Regions from separate parts of the Homo sapiens genome. Here region 2 is linked to region 1. The links are contacts of gene promoters, found by promoter capture Hi-C in human tissues and cell types (Jung and others, 2019). All regions are on one chromosome and are shown on one strand. Each heading gives the region's core, a stretch centred on a gene start or on the middle of the fragment in contact. The rest is flanking DNA. Distances are from core to core; before and after follow the strand shown. Region 1 has its middle 4.4 kb from the start of LINC00628. Region 2 holds the start of MDM4 (MDM4 regulator of p53).

Region 1 (3,891 bases), core at 365-2,864:
TTATTTCCTGCCGTGGCTAAAGGTGTGCCTTGGGAAGTTGCCCTGGACTTAATCTTGGAAGCAGAAGACAGAGCTCTTTGGGCTGGGGTGGTGCATGAGCTACCCAGTTGAACTCACTTCTCTCTGCCTTGGCCTGGGTCTCTCCATCTGGTTTCATTCGCAAGGGTGAGGCTCAGCGTGCCCAGGCCTGTGGGCCTCACCTTCTGGTCTGGCCTCAGATTCTGCAGGGATGGTGAAGCGCCTCTGCCCAGCCTCCTGGGGCAATGGCACCACCAGAGGGAGCCCCAGTCTAGCCAGGGCAGGGAGGACCCTTGTCTCATCCCCTTTCCGTCCCTCTCTGCTTTGAAATCCTCATCCATCTGTACTAGGAGGGGTTACGTTTCCAATCCCCCACCGCCAAGATCTGCCAGCACTTAGATCTGCCACCATCTACCACCTACATCAGCTTAGCCGCTAACCTATTTTTTCTTTTTTTTAAGATAGGGTCTCACTCTGTCACCCAGGCTGGAGTGCAGTGGTGCGATCTCAGTTCACTGCAATTTCCATCTCCGGGGTTCAAGAGATTCTCGTGCCTCTGCCTCCTGAGTAGCTGGGACTACAGGTGCCCACCACCATGCCTGGCTAATTTTTGTATTTTTGGTCAAGATGGGGTTTTGTCATGTTGGCCAGGCTGGTCTCGAACACCTGGCCTCCAGGGATCCATCCACCTTGGCCTCCCAAAGTGCTGGGATTACAGGCGTGAGCCACCATGCCTGGGCCTGTTAACCATATTCTTAAAGCGAAAGCAAATTTTTCTTTTCTTTCTTTTCTTCTTTTTCTTTTTCTTTTGTTCCTCCTCCTTCTCCTCCTCCTCTTTCTCCTCTTCTTCCTGCTCTTCCTCCTTCTTCGTCTTCCTTTCAAAGTATCTGTTCTGGAAATTATTCTAATATCACATGACAGTTATAGACTGAATTTTTCCTGTTTGGACCCAAATGCTTCTTGCTTCAGTTAAGAATTGTGAATTGTTTCTTCTTTTCTCCCTCTTGCAGATACCATCTTCATATTCCTTTTGGTACATGGCTCTAGAGATTGTTCACTAAACACTTTCACATGTATTACGGCATCTCACCAGTCCCTAGAAACGTACCTGTCCACCTCTCTGACCTCGTGTCCCATGACTGGCTGGCTGTGCTGCCATCTTTCCTTCCCACCATCATGTCAAACCCATTCCCACCTCAGAGCCTTGGCGCTTGCTGTTCCCCCTGCCTGGGAGCACTGTCCTCCCATTTCCACACACCTGGTTCCGACTTCTCGATTAGCCCATGTCACCTCCTCAGAGAGGCCATGCCTGACTGCTCTGCCTGAATTCCCCCACCCCTCCACACTCTTACTCTTACTTTTCTTCACAGCACCTGGCACTACCTGAAACACGTTTGTTTATGTATCTGTTTGGTTATGTATTTCTGGTCCCCCCACTGCTGTGTAAGTCCTGGGAGCAGATTCTGGCTATTGTGTTTTTCACTCCCTCCTAGAACCTTTCTGGTGCATGATAGCAATCCAGTATTTCCTGAAATGAATGCATGCATGATAAACATTGGGAGACAAACAACACAGGCATAATTGATTTCTGCTTCAGCTACCAGCCCAGAGCTTTCTTCTGAGCTCCCTCAATTCATTGTGTCCAGACTTGAAGTCATTGCTTCTCTGTGCCGGTTCCATCTTTTCTAGAAATACCAGCAAAGCAGAGCCCTCGGAGATACCCTCAACCTTTCCCGCTCTCATGCCTCCCCCATGGGTCCTGTCAATTCTCCTCCCAAATATCTCTCAACCCACCCACTTCTCGATATCTCCATAGCCATGGCCTGAGTTCAGGCCCACATGGACTCTCACTTCCATTATTGTAGAAGCTTTCCAACTGATCTTCCTGCCTCCAGGCCATAATGCTGCAAGAGTGCTTTCTTTCTAGAATTCAAATTTGGTCATATTATTCTCCATTAAAAACTTTGCATGTTACCCGTCACTTACAGGATAAAATCTAAATTCCCTATCTGGGCACGTAAAGGGCATCATAGTCTCGCTCCCGCCCCCCTTCCCAGCCTCACCTCCCACACTCCCCACCTGGCTCTTTAGCCCTCTCCTCTAGCCCTGCCAAATCACTTGTGGTTCCCTCAACATTCGCTTCCCTTTCATGCTTCCGGGGCTTTGTAGGTGCCAATCTCTCCTCATGTGGCTCATGCCCACCTGAGAACACTTGTTCTTCCTTCAAGCCCTGCCCATGATGTCACTTCTTCAGGGATGTGTCCGTGTATGGTAGTTATTTGCTTATACTTGTGTCATTTTCCACTAGATTAGTAACTCTCCAACTGGAGCGTGTATCACAATCACTGGAGGGTTTGTTGGAGCACAGATGGCTGGGCCCTACCCCTAGAGTTTCGGATTCAGAGGGTCTAGAATTTGCACTTCCAACACATTCTCAGGTTATGCTGCTGTGGCTGCTCTGGGGCCCACACTTCGAGAACCAGTAGCCTAGACTGAAAACTCATCAAGGGCAGGGGCAACACAGGGGGGTCGTAAAGTCCGGAGACACAGGCAATATTGTTTAATTATCAACCAGCCATGAATTCTGTGTTCACATACATTTCCAGACCTGGTGGTCATTCTGTATATCATAGCAGCAGCCGCCACTCTAGGAGCTAAGTGCTTTATGACATTATCTCATTTATTCCTCACCGCACCTTTATGAGGAGGTTCTATCATCCCGCTTTTAGCAAATAATGGGAAAACTGGTTCTTCGTATGTATTACTCAATGTCACAAAGCTTGTATTAATAGAAAGCAAGCGGGAAGGCGGCCTCATGTGTGCCTGATTTCACAGGCTTTGCTCTTAGCATGATGGCACGGCTGCTTCCCAGCATCCTTGGCACCTTGCTTGGACAAACGAAGTGCTCAGTAAGTTCTTGCTGAATGAGTGAGTGAATGAATGAACGACTGGCTCACCGTTCGTTCCTATTTTCACAGTTCCCACAAAGGTTTATGACATTTGGTTGGTGGATGAGTTAGAAACTCAAACGACTTCAGACATGGATTCCAAGTAATAATAAGAGCCAGACAACCGGAGGAGTTATTTTGTTTCTTTTAGTGTGGATGAGGGAGGGAAATTTCAATGAGCAAATATTGACATTTGCCCAGGAGCAGACAAATGTGTTAATTGTGTGTCAAAAAGCTCTTTCTTTCAGGGTATTTAGGAAGTGACTCTCATGGTATCCACAACAGACGTTTTGCTCGAGTGTGCGTGTGGTTTTGAAGGTGTCATTTACTGGGAAGAGTGGTGGGAGGAGGAGAGAACAAGCGAAAGGTTAAAACGTGGGAGAAACGCACTGCAAGCCTGTATGCACTTACCGCAAGAATCCACAAGAGGGCTCCAGAGCACACATGATGGCCCCACAAGGCTTTCAGGGGGTTTGCTCACAGCGTCTCCCCAGGCTGAAGGCGCCTTCTCGGAGGTGACAGGGCCACCTTTCCCATCCCCTGCCACCTCCCAGCCATAGTGGGTCTGGTAGCTGTCTTTCTGATGCTTAAAGATCTAGCTATGTAACACCCATTCCTGCCCAACAGGAAGTGTTCCCCCGCCCCCTTGTCTCCCTCCTCCGCGTTCCTGCGGAAGCCGCCGCCGGTGAAACTGGCCAGTTCTGTCCCCAAGGGTGCCTCTCTCCTTCCCCAAGGTTGACAGGGAGGGAGACGTGGCAGGACGCTTTCTGCAGAGCCACACCCCTGATAACCCGGTTCCCAAGCTGGGCCCCTGCGGCTCCTCCACCGAGGGAACCCCACCCAGCCGTTGGTCTTCCTTGTTCTGTTCTGGAAGCTTCCTCCAGGAAGGTGCGAGAATGTGCAGGCAGGCAGTCCACCCACGGCC
Region 2 (3,891 bases), core at 849-3,348, 150 kb before region 1:
AGACCTACCTACTAACTGCAAGTTACTAGGGAAAATGGAGAGCAAGCAGTTAATAAGTCAAATCCAGAACGTAGGTGTTCTACAGGACCTGGGACGGCAGGGAAGATTAAAGTGGGAAGATTAAACTGGGAAGATTAAATCTTTAATTAAAGATTAACGATTGTTATAGAATCTTAAAAAACCAACTGCAGCCGGTGGCCTGTGCCTGTAGTCCCAGCTATTCCGGAGGGCTGAGGCAGGAGGATCCCTAGAGTCCAGGAGTTTCAGGCTGTAGTGTGCAATGATCACACCTGTGAATAGCCACTGCACTGCAGCCTGAGCACACAGTGAGACCTCATCTCTTTTTTTGAGACAGGCTCTCGCGCTGTCGCCTAAGCTAGAGTGCAGTAGCTCCATCCCGGCTTGCTGCAGCCTTTACCTCCTGGGATCAAGCAATCCTCCCACCTCAGTCTCTTGGGTAGCTGGGACTGGAAGCTCGCTCTATGACACTGATTTTTTTATTTTTTGCAGAGATGGGGCTCAGTTTGTTGCCTAGGCTGGTGTCGAACTCCGAGACTCAAGCAAACCTGCCCCCTTGGCCTCCCAAAGTGCTGGGATTAAAGGTGTGAGCCACTGGGCCTGGCCGAAATCCCATCTATTAAAAAAAAAATGTATGAGGAGAGAGAAGACTAAATCTAAACTGAGATACAGTAATACTTAACACCAAGAGGTTCCAAGTATCTTTGACAGATACTAGTTCCACGTGCCAACAGCACAGAGCTGCAGCATTTTCTCCGGGTGTTGCTTTTAAACTGTGGTTTTCGGCCGGGCACGGTGGCTCACGCCTGTAATCCCAACACTTTCGGAGGCCGAGGTGGGCGGATCACCTGAGGTCTGGAGTTCGAGAACAGCCTGGCCAACCTGGTGAAACCTCATCTCTAATAAAACACAAAATTAGCCAGGCGTGGTGGCGCACACCTGTAATCCCAGCGACCCGGGAGGCTGAGGCAGAAGAATCACTTGAACCCGTGAGGCAGAAGTTGCAGTGAGCCAAGATCGCGCCACTGCACGCCAGCCTGGGCAAAAAGAGCGAAACTCCACTCAAAAAAAACAAAAACAAAACAAAAACACAACCAAAAAAACCTGTGGTTTTCAAGCTTTAAGGTATACAAAAATCACTGGGAGGTGTGCTCATTAAAATATATTTCTCTGAGCCCCATCTCGATACTGTCTGTAGGTTTCAGTGTGGCCCCAAAACGAACATTTTTTCTTTTTTTTTTTTTGAGACGGAATCTCCCTCTGTAGCCCAAGCTGGAGTGCAGTGGCGCGATCTCGACTCACTGCAACCCCCGCCCACGGATTCAAGTGATTCTCCTGCCTCAGCCTCCCGAGTAGCTAGGATTACAGGCATGCGCCACCACACACATCTAATATTTTTGTATTTTTACTAGAGACGGGGTTTCACCAGGTTGGCCAGGTTGGTCTCGAACTCCTGTCCTCAGGTAGATCCACCCACCTCGGCCTCCTGAAGTGCTGGGATTACAGGCGTGAGCCACCGCGCCAAGCCAAAACAAGCATTTTCAAACAAGCACTCAAGTGCCTCTAAGGTAGACTGTCCGCAGACCTAAAAACTAACTTAAAAACTTAAGACACGTCAATGTCATTCTACCCGGTTCCCTCTCTCCCACCTCCTTTCTCCAAATTGCCTCAACAGTCCTCAAATGTTGTGTCCAGTTAAACTCAATCCAACTACGTCGACTTTAGGTTTGTCACCTGTTGGCCAAAGTTACTTCACGTCACCCCACCTCCACTTTTATCTTCCGCGAGCCCTCATCCCACAACTCTTCCCCTCCCCCCGAGCCCTTCTTCCGCCTGGCGCGGCCTTCCCCACGCCGCCCGACCCACCTCTCAAGCTCCTCCCGCCCGCTACCCGCACAACTGGCGGTACGGCCGCCTGCTCCTCACTCTCCAGCTCCCGCTCCCGGCACCCCGCCGACGAAGGCCAAGAGCCACACCTTACGGCAGCTCCATGAGTCGCTCCCCCGCCGAGCCCGGGTGGGGGGAGGGGTGGCAGTCACAGATCCTAGGGCCTCGGCAGCATTTTGAAATGGCGAGTAATGAAGCCGCAACTTCCGGCCTCCCACACGGCCTCACACGAGGGCTTCCGGTGAGGCCTCCGGAAACCATAGATGGAGCAATGGGAGGACTAGAGAGCTAGAAAGGCTGAGCTCACTACCATAGAGTAGATCCTAGTCCGGGGAGAGAGTCGTGGGGCCCGAACGGTTGAAAGTCGTCAGATTTGAAGAGATAATAAGTGAGGGACTTGCAGGGTCTTGTGATATTTACAGACGTGTATTAGGAGATCAGAAAACAGAGAAGAGGAAGAGCTAAGGTCATAATCACAGGCTGCCTTCAGCTCTTCGGAAAAACTACGCTTCCTCTGCCATTCCCCAGTCCTCACCCTTACTCCCCAAGGGTGGTAGGGAAGGGAAACGGAGCGATGGCGGCACTAGGGTGGCAAGGAAGCTTGAAGCCATGTCAAATAAATAGTTGAAAGCACCAGCCGCTGTGGCTCACGCCTGTAATCCCAGCACTTTGGGAGGCCTAAGGCAGGCGGATCACCTGAGGTCAGGAGTTCGAGACCAGTCTGACCAATATGGTGAAACCCTGTTTCTACTAAAAATACAAAATTAGTCGGGTGTGGTGGCGCATGCCTGTAATCCCAGCTACTCAGGAGAATCGTTTGAACTTGGGAGGCGGAGGTTGCAGTGAGCCGAGATAGCGCCATTCCAGCCTGGGCAACAAGAGCGAAACTCCTCAAAAAAAAAAAAAAAAAAGAAAAAGAAATAGTTGAAGGCTCAAGGGAGTTTTTAACCTGCATATAAACGAGGGAGGCCGGGCGCAGTGGCTCTCCCCTGTAATCCCAGCGCACTTTGGGAGGCCGAGGCGGGCGGATCACCTGAGGTCAGCAGTTCGAGACCATCCTGCCCAACATGGCGAAACCCCCGTTTCTACTAAAAATACAAAAAATTAGCGGGGCATGGTGGCGGTCACCTGTAATCCCAGCTACTTAGGAGGCCGAGGCAGGAGAATCGTTTGAACCCGGGTGGCGGAGGTTGCAGTGAGCCGAGATAGCGCCATTGCACTCCAGCCTGGGCGACAAGAGCGAAACTGCATCTCAAAAAAAAAAAAAAAAAAAAAGAGGGAAAGGGTTGAGCATAGAAATTGGAAGCTGTCTTCAAATAACTGAATAGTATAATATTGGAAATAACGGAGCCTTATTCTCTTCTCCAAAGTGCAGAACTAAAACCAATAGAAATTACAAGGCAGTATTTTTAAGCTCAGAAAATCCTCTAACATTTAGAGTTGTTCTGAAATAAATGAAATTAGGTATTTGGGGGAAGTAATGTCATTTGAAGACAGCCTGCCTGAGAGGTTTGTTGAAAGCTCTTCTATATTAGGAAACATTAAAACTGGCTGTGTAACCCAAGAAAGCTCCATCTCAGTGTTCTTTGCACCTGTCTTTTAGCATTTACCACGTATTTTTTTTTTAGTTATTTGTGTATATACCATTCTTATCTCTCCCAATAAGCAACAACAAAACCTGGCTCCCAATGCTAGATACAGACCCATGCAAAAGAACACAGGGCAGTAACCTTCCTTAAATTTGTACATTCCGCTTTGTTCTACTTCTAGCATAACCTCCTGCATAGCTGGGAGATCCAGGGTTCCATTAAGGAGCTGAAGAATTAACTTCTTTTTCATAGAAATCTGCAACCACCTCACTCACAAAAAAAAAAAAAAAAAGGTCAAGGGTGCTTTTTTAGGTGAACCACTGTCAACTATTTCCCCTGTCCTTTTGTGCAATTAGTATTTTTTAAAACTTTCAACAGGAATTTTTTTTTTGTAACT

Evidence for each region. Contacts are between HindIII fragments. The study calls those that stand out against the background at their distance.
Region 2: the fragment with the promoter of MDM4 here is called in contact with a fragment that was not itself captured in region 1 in 1 of the 25 tissues and cell types used here (bladder).

What each region holds. Positions count from the first base shown.
Region 1 is chr1:204,363,346-204,367,236 of GRCh38, reverse strand. It overlaps a transcript of PLEKHA6 not described here. Among named protein-coding and RNA genes, the nearest start is that of LINC00628, 4.4 kb to the left of the region's middle. RefSeq lists an enhancer at 3,879-3,891. The HindIII fragment of the contact is 5,440 bases long and covers 1-3,891 here.
Region 2 is chr1:204,514,613-204,518,503 of GRCh38, reverse strand. MDM4 (MDM4 regulator of p53) reads right to left here and starts at 2,098. Exons shown (of 11, transcript NM_002393.5): 1 at 1,995-2,098. RefSeq lists enhancers at 1,826-2,105, 2,136-2,215, 2,226-2,355, 1,794-2,704, 1,645-2,844 and 1 more. The HindIII fragment of the contact is 11,632 bases long and covers 1-3,891 here.